Linked DNA regions of Homo sapiens: region 2 is linked to region 1. The links are contacts of gene promoters, found by promoter capture Hi-C in blood cells and fetal thymus (Javierre and others, 2016). All regions are on one chromosome and are shown on one strand. The core of a region is centred on a gene start or on the middle of the fragment in contact, and the rest is flanking DNA. Distances in the headings are between cores, read along the strand shown. Region 1 holds the start of CYP19A1 (cytochrome P450 family 19 subfamily A member 1). Region 2 overlaps LOC107983981 (a long non-coding RNA gene).

What was found. The method cuts DNA at HindIII sites, captures the fragments that hold promoters and counts their contacts. A CHiCAGO score of 5 or more calls a contact.
Region 2: a fragment that was not itself captured here is called in contact with the fragment with the promoter of CYP19A1 in region 1 in 1 of 17 cell types (total CD4 T cells); the score reaches 5.6 in total CD4 T cells.

The regions. Positions count from the first base shown.
Region 1 is chr15:51,335,713-51,340,154 of GRCh38, forward strand. It overlaps CYP19A1 (cytochrome P450 family 19 subfamily A member 1), which reads right to left and starts at 2,884. Exons shown (of 10, transcript NM_000103.4): 1 at 2,783-2,884. RefSeq lists promoters at 2,809-3,386, 2,809-3,127, an enhancer at 3,048-3,127 and cis regulatory regions at 3,079-3,096, 3,161-3,190. The HindIII fragment of the contact is 2,086 bases long and covers 1,718-3,803 here.
Region 2 is chr15:53,018,919-53,023,270 of GRCh38, forward strand. The region is part of intron 4 of LOC107983981 (a long non-coding RNA gene); the gene reads left to right. Among named protein-coding and RNA genes, the nearest start is that of LINC02490, 95 kb to the right of the region's middle. The HindIII fragment of the contact is 556 bases long and covers 2,571-3,126 here.

The sequences.
Region 1 (4,442 bases), core at 1,634-4,133:
TAATCTTTTAAAATGAAAATCTGTCATCCATCTACCGACTCCTCCCCATCCCACACACACGTAAAACTCCTCATTTGTTTCCCATTGCTTTTACAGTAAAGGCCTCAGCCCTACAAGGAAGGTCCCACCCACAGAGTCTGGTCCCTGCCTTGGTTACAGCCTCATTTCACTCCCTCCTCCTTGCTCCTGACGCTCCATGTGGCACCGCATTGGCTTCTTACGGTTCCTCAAATAAGCCATGCCATCTCCTGCCATAGGGCCTTGAACGTGTTGTTCCTCCTCTCTGCAATTCTCCTCACCCCTATCTTCGCCTAGTTTACAACTCAGCTTCAGGTGCCAACACAAGCATCCTTTTCTCAGGGAAGCCTTCCCTGAACCACACATCCAACTCTAGGACAGGCTCTTCAGTGATATGATCTCAAGGAACTGCATTCCTTTCTTCCAGAGCATTTGTCTCGTGGCCGCATTTAGAATTGCACCCTCATGTCTAATATTGTTTGGTAAATCTGTCTCCCCACTCCAGGCTTCAGGAATGATGCCTGGCTTTGCTCTCCATGCTATTCCTGGCTCCTGGCACAGTTCCTGGCAGATAGTAGGCACCCAATTACCATTTGCTGAGTAAATGAATACATGAAAGAATAAAAGAAAGAAAAAAGGGAGAATTGCTGACTTTGGTTGGATGGTGTGAAGTTTCTTGGGGTTTAACAGTAGGAATGGGGAGTTAAAACCATAAGAGGCTGAGTGGAAGATGCATGTGGTGACAACTTTTAGGGTGGCTCTCTCCCTAATCACCAGTGTGGTGGAAGGGTGGTGGGGCAGTAAAACCATCAAAAGTCACAGTGTAGCTGTCAATCTCATCACTGAAGACAAGAATACCCAAGTGCCAGGCCAGGAAAATTATTTACTTCACAATCAGGAAGAAATGCTGTGGAACTAAAGTTGGGGTATATTCTTGAATTTGATTTTATTCTCCAGAGCCCTAAAGTTAACCAGCTGGAATCATTTTTAAGGACCATTCTATTTAACTTTTGGAAATGAAGCATCTGCCTTTTAATGGAAAAACTACTTCTCATTGTAAAGATAGCACACAATGTTCTTGGCTGCTTTGGTCTCCAAAAAAAGGGAATTGAGATATCTCCCTGTGTCCGCATTATATCCTGAGCCTCCTGTGTCAACAAAACAGGCCAGATTGATAGCTTTTTTTTTTTTTTAATAATAAGTAAAAAGTAGCAGCCCATTCTGTGAAGTATCAGGCAGGGCAGGCTATGCAGGCATATCTGCCTCTCAAGAAATCTCAAGAGGCTTAGGGATTCACACTGAAAGGCTCCATATAACCAACCTCAAAGCCATGGTATTCAGACGAGAACCCAAGTTTATCGTGCATTCAAAAGTTCTGTTCCTCAAAAAGCATCTACAAAGTGTGATTAGCTAATGAATCCATTAATCAAATATTCCTACTTGGCACAAGTCCCTGCTGTGAGAGGACAGTTAAGATAGGTCCCTGCCTTAAGAATATTGTAACCCAACTGAAGAAATAGGATGTGGAAGAACTAAGATGTCGATTAACAGCACAAGGCACAGAAGAACTAAAGTGTCAACTAACAGCACAAGGCACACACAGTGTAAGTCTCAGCCAGTTCATATGGCCCATATCCAACAATACCAACCCGTGTTGAACATTTATTATACAAGTGCTTTACAAGTATTTTCTTATTAAAGCTTCACAACCCTATGAAATAGATACAATTACAGTCTCTTTAAAGAACTTGAGTAGCATATCTAAAGTCATGCAGTTAAAAAACAGTTTCAAGGTCAGGTCTGATTCCAAAGCCCAGGTGCATAACCACAGAGCCCCTGCAGCTTGTAGAGCTCACAGTGCTTGGGACTGGCCTAGGAAGTCAAGGCTAGATGAGGAAGGGTACTCGGAGTTAGGCCTTAAAGTGGGCAACACTGAAATAGGCCAGTGATGGAGATAGGTCACTGTGTGGCACTGCGGTGGAAAGAGGGTTGGAGAGAGAAGATAGAGGAGAAGAGGAAAGAGGGCAGAGCATGGCAGCTGCTTGGGCACAGCCACTTTAGGGTGAGAGATGAGTGAAGATGTCTACCTTGTAGGCCATATCAACATGTCCCCCTTCTTCTGTGAAAAATGCCATCATCCCACACAGGAAGAGTTGGAGAGGGATCTGACAGTGGAGTCTGGTAGGAAAGGAGTCTGGCTTTTCATTTGCGCTTCCTTCTGCCCCTCTTGCCCCAGAGCAATATCCCAGGCTTTCCACCAACCCAGCCCACGGGGTGGCCATGCTACAAGCCTTTTGAGTCCTGCATCCCAAGAGGGGCAGCTTCTTGGCCTGAAGTTGTCTAATAGAGCCTGCCTGGCTCCAAGCAGGCCTCATCTCTGCTCTGTCTACTGGATCTGGGCTCTGAACTGGGGTGGGAGGTGGGGAAATGGGGAGGCTGGTTCAGGCTACCACTTCCTCTCCTCACCATTGGATAGCCAGCCTTTCAAGGAAAGTAGGGGGCCAGTTCTGTGGCATAGAACAGTATAGTTCTTAGGCCCTCCTATTTCAGAAAAACACTCAAGCAGTGTTTTCCCTCTGCTCTCACACCACGACAACAGTCATCAACACAGAAGACTTCTGCGACCAAATGTAGGGGATTTTCCCCCACACACCAAGCAGCGGGCACCAGCTGGGTGTCCTCCAACTCAGTTCCAACACTATCTACCTGGAAAGAGTGTCTGATCCCACAGGTTGAGGGCTCAGTCAGATTAAGAGATACATACGCGACGTCTGGAAGATCCCGAGCACAGGACCTTCCGTCCTGATAGGATAAGTTCTTCTTCACCTTCCTGTTTGCCTCCACGTGTTCAGCCCTCCAGAAACTCCCTGAACCCTGTCCTTTGGGCCTTTTATGGAGATTTCATTTGTTGTCCATGACTGAAGCATGTGATTGAACAAAATGTGATTGGACAAAAAGGGTATGATCTAATCTCAGCAAGGTCTGTCTGTCCAGATTCTTCTTCCTCTCTTTGTGCAGCATTCCTTCCTCCAGGGTATGGGGCATGACCTCCTCTGGAATGAGGGTCTTATGACCCACAATCAGATTATAGAGTCCCGCCTTGGGTGGATGAAAGGAGGGCAAAGAAGGCCAGAGAAATATTCTGTTTCCTGAGGCCTAAAGCACCTCTACATTATAGCAAAAGACCTCAGCAAGTGTCATGGGAGTTATGGACAAGAACCATGGACAAAAATCTATATACATGTAATCATAAGATCACACCCCCCACCACACACCACATTGTTCTACATAGAAGTGCCTTCACTATACAGCTTTTCATTTATTCATTCGTTCATTCACTCATTTATTCAACGGGTAATAGTGAATTCCAAATCAGGAACTGTGCTATGTGTTGGGGGTGACATGGCCCCTAGCCTCAGGAGGCTTCTATTCCATGGTTAATGGTGGGTATTGCTGAGAGATGATCAGTCAACAGTAACTGCAATGAATGTTAGGATAAAGAGAAGCCCAGAAGGCTCCACGGTGTTCCAGCTGCTCACAGGGTAATCTGCCTGTCTTTTTTACTTCCGTATCTCCAATGCCCATTATCATACCAGGCACAGGAAGTGCTCAGTTAAGTGTTTACTGAATTAAATGAAGATCTGAATGATGCTGAGTGTCAACCCTCCCTCTCAGTGGCTCCTCCCCATTGGCCCTAAACCTGATACCTGGATGAAAAGAGATAAGGATACATGACAGTTCTTCAAGTAGGTCACAGAACGTTTGAGTTGGGAGGAAATGGACAAAGCTTTTTACATCACTGCCATCCCCTCCCAGTCATCATATCCCCACAGTGGGGGTACTTTATGAAACACTTGGACCTTCATGCTTTCCTAATTTCTTCTTATCCTGTATGCTCTTCTAAGAATACTGAAGTTGGTCAATGTTCCTATTAAAACTCAGGAATCTAAACTTTGACTCAGAATTTCTGATTGAGATGTCACTTCAGTTTCCTTGTGCATTCTCAGAGGCTCTACCCTGGCTCACCCTGGAGAGTAGGGGGCAAGAAGTCTGATACTACTCAGCTTTCTCTCCTGTGCCAAAAAATCCTACCTGCAAGAATTGGTATGTGTATTAGTCCATTCTTGCCTTGCTATAAAGAAAAGCCCGAGACTGGGTAACTTACAAGAAAAGAAGTTTAATTGGCTCATGGTTCCACAGGCTGAACAGGAAGCATGGCAGCACCTGCATCTGGGGAGGCCTCAGGGAGCTTTTACTCATGGAGGAAGGCAAAGCAGGAGCAGGAACATCTCACATGGTGGGAGCAGGAGGAAGAGGGGCCAGGAGAGATGCTACACACTTTTAAACAACCAGATCTCATGATAACTCACTATCATGAGAACAGCACTGAGGGGATGGTGCTAAACCATTCATGAAGGACCACT
Region 2 (4,352 bases), core at 1,599-4,098, 1.7 Mb after region 1:
GAATTTGGCTGTTAATCCTTTTGGTCTGGGATTTTATTTTTTTGGTTGGTAGGTTTTTAATTACTGATTCAATTTTTGAACTTGATATTTGGCTGTTTAGGGTTTCAATTTCCTCTTTATTCAATCATAGGAGGTTGTGTGTTTCCAGGAATTTATTCATTTATTCTAGATTTTCTAGTTTGTGTGCACAGAGACGTTCATATTAGTTTTTCAGTGAACCAACTTTTGGTTTTGTTGATCCTTCGTATGAATTTTTGGGTCTCAATTTTGTTCAGTGCTGCTCTGATTTTAGTTATTTCTTTTCTTCTGCTAACTTTGGGGTTAGTTTGCTCTTTATTTTTTAGTTCCTCTAGGTGTGATGTTAGACCATTAATTTGAAATCGTTCTAACTTTTTAAGGTAAGCATTTAGTGCTATAAACTTTCCTCTTAACACTCTTTTTGCTGTAGCCTAGAGATTTTGGTATATCTGTGTTATCATTAATTTCAAGGTATTTTTAAATTTCTGCCTATATTTTATTGTTTACTCAAAATTCATTTAGCAGAAAGTTGTTTAATTTTCATGTAATTGTGTGGTTTTGAGACATCTTCTTGGTATTGAATTCTATTTTTTCTTCCACTGTGGTCCAAGAGCATGGTTGGTATGTTTTTATTTTTAAATATATATTGAGACTTGTTTTATGGATAAACATGTGGTTGATCTTGGGTTATGTTTTGTGTGAAAATGAGAAGAATATATATCCTGTGATTGATGGGTGGAGTATTCTGTAGATGTCTATTAGGTCTAGTTGGTCAAGTGTCTAATTCAAGTCCAGAATTTCTTTGTTGGTTTTCTGCCTTGATGGTCTGTCTAACACTGGCAGTGGGATGTTGAAGTCCCCCACATTATTGTGTGGTTTTCCGAGTCTTTTAGTAAGTCTAGAATCTGGGTGCTCCAATGTTGGGTGTGTATATATTTAGGATAGTTTTCTCCCTCACTCGAGAGCAGGCATTCCAGTCTCTGGTCTGATATTAAAATGCCTGACGTTCATGCTGCCAGGTCACCAAAGAATGGCTGACTTTGTATGTGCCTGGGCTAAAAATGGTGTCCTGTTCTCCGTCCTGGGTCTGGGAAAATGTCTGCAGCTTTTTCTTGTGTCTTTCCCTTACATTGTCTCCAAGCCTTTCCCCAAATTAGCTCCCACACTTATGGGAAACAAAGTGCTCTCCCTCAGCCTGGGTTGCTCTGATCCCCAGTGGAAATGTGAGTCATAGAGGGAGGCTACTTGCCTCTCTGAGGTACTCAGGCTTCACTCACTTTTATCAGCTAAATGTCACAGGAGCTGTTTGCTGGCGTTCTCCTCCCCAGTATCTGTGGTGCCCATCATGATTCTGGTGGATTCCCATTTTCCTTCTTGAAGTAAAGCTCCAGAGTTTATCTTTATGCACTATCTTGCTGTTTCCAAGTGGCTGAGGCATTCTAATACCTTTTATCTGCATCTGGGAGGGAGAAAAAAACCCTGTCATCATTTTAAATTTTCTTGAATCCAACTGCCTTTTCAACCAACATTTAGTTTTTAATAGTTTCACCTTGTATGTTCTCCTTCATAGGTTTAAGTTCCATTATTTCAGAGGATGACTGTCTTGTTATTTTTCCTTTTCATAGATGCTGGCTTTCTATGTTATATGAAACTTGATTTAAGTTTATGTTTATTCCACCTCTATTTTAAAAAGGATCTCAGTCCTTTGTAGGAGAAAATAAACTTGCTCAATTTCTTCTGTTATCTGACTCTCTGTCCAGATATTCATCCTTTACTTTATCCATCAACAGACATTTATTGAACACAGGTGCTAGGAATTGAGCTAAATGTCACAGGAGACACAAGGTTGAATATACATGGTTTCTGACCTACTTCAGCTGGCATTTTAGCTAAGGAAAATGGATCTGTCTGGCTGAGGCTTAGTGTGGGAAGAGGGCAGGGCTGCTGTGTGTGGTCACACAGAGAGCCTACATAACTTGAGGGGGTAGCTTCGACATAGGTAGGATATATGGTAGCTTCTTATGGAGTAGTGCCCGGTACTAAGGATCTGTACTAGTACACCATTTTAGCACTTTCCTGTTGGGGTTTTTGGCTTAGCTCCAGGAAATCATTTGTAAGTAGAGTTAGAGCGGGAGAAATAGTTTCTGGTCTGAACAACAGAATCTTACATGTAAAGATGGTTGCCATTTATTAAAGTAACTCTGAGCTAGTGAGATGTGCTGGCTATATACCCAGCTTTGAAATGTGACTCAGGATGTTGAATCTTAGCTGTGACTTGGCTCCACACATGAACCATTTGGATAGTGCACCTGGAAGTACAAAATCTTGTTCTGGACTGAAATCAGCTCACTCATTGAAATAAAAAAAATCATAGCCAGAAATCAATAACAAAAATGAAACTATAAAATTCACAAACCTTTGGAAAATGAAGACATATACTTCTAAACAATAACCCATGGCTCAATGAAGAAATCATGATGGAAATTTTAAAATACTTTCAACTGAATGATTTTGGAAATGTTACATATCAAAACTTGTGAAATATAGTAAAAAGCTTTGCTTATAGGGAAATTTATAGCTTTAAGTACATAAGTTAGGAAAAATGGGAGGTTGAAATTAATGAGCTAGGCATCCGTCTTAAGAAGTTGGGAAATAACAGCAAATCAAACCAAAGAAAGCAGAAGAAATGTCATAATGAATGTTAGAGTAGAAAATAATGAAGTTGAAAACAAAAAATAAATGTACAATACATCAATATAGGCAAAAGTTGGTTTTAGAAGAAGCTATTAAAACTGAGAAGTTTCTGGTGAGGCCAAGAGAGGGAGACACACAAACTCACACACACATGCACACACACACACACACAGAAAGAGAGAGAAAGAGAGAGAAACAGAGAGGAATCAATGTCAAGAATAAAAAAGTGATTATCTCAGGTCCTAGATATTGAAATGATAAGAAACTATTATGAATAACTTTATAGCAAAACTTTACAAAATTTAGGGGAAATGAACACATTCTTAAAGAAGTACAATTTTATTAAAAGACATCTGAAGAAAGAGAAAATCTGAATAGTCTTTTAACTGTTAAGAAAATTGAATCTGAAATTAAAGCTTTTCCTACAAACAAAACTCTAGATCAGATCAGATAAGAAATTATATCAGACATTTAGGACCAAAATAACTATCATGTTACACAAAAGAATATTCCAGACACATTTTATATCAAGTATAAAGCCTATCTCACTTATAGGCATAGAGGTATTAAAAAAACCTAATAAAAATGTTACAAATCAAATGTGATTGCTTTAGCCTTTGAAATCAGTGAAATTAACTTAGAGTAAACGAGAAAAAATCGACCATTTCAATAAGTTCAGAAATTGCATTGAATAAAATTTAACATTGGTTCATAATAAGAATTTTTTAGTAAACTGGGAATACAGGAAGATTTTCCTAATGGTAAAAGATATCTATAAAAAGTCTACTATAATTTTATACTTAATGGTTAAATGCTCTTCTTTGGAGATTAGAAATAACAGAAAGATCCTCAGTATCACCACTTCTCTTCAACATTATACTGGAAATGCTATCCAGTGCAAAGAGGCAGAAAAACCAAAAGAAAAAAGGTATATAGATTGGAAGGGAGAAATAAAAGGATTACAAAAAATGATATGATTTTATGAAAAAATTCAAAAGAATGTACAGATAACATTAGTAATACATGACTTTAGTTAATGCATGACTTATAGTATTACTGGTCAATATTGAAATATAAACTGTGAACTTATATACCTGTAATAAACAGCTATGAAATGAATAAAAATACGATTTACAATAGCGTAAAAATATAAATTATCTAGAAACAAATCTAAAACATGATGTTGATATGGTTTGGCTGTATCCACCCCCAAACCTCAATTTGAATTTTATCACCCAGAATTCTTATGTATTGTGGGAGGGACCCAGGAGGAGGTAATTGAATCATGGGAACCAGTCTTTCCCATGCTATTCTCATGATAGTGAATAAGTCTCAAGAGACCTGATGGGCTTATCAGGGGTTTCCGCTTTTGCTTCTTCCTCATTTTCTCTTGCTGCTGCCATGTAAGAAGTAACTTTCACCTCCCGCCATGACTCTGAGGGCTCCCCAGCCACGTGAACTGTAAGTCCAATTAAACCTCTTTTCCTTCCCAGTCTCAGATATGTCTTTATCAGCAGCATGAAAACGGGTTAATGCAGATGTGTAAGACATCTATGCAGAAAACCACAAAGCATACCATAAAACTAAGAATAATATATAAATAACTGGAAGAAAAAATGTATATAGATTTGAAGATTTAA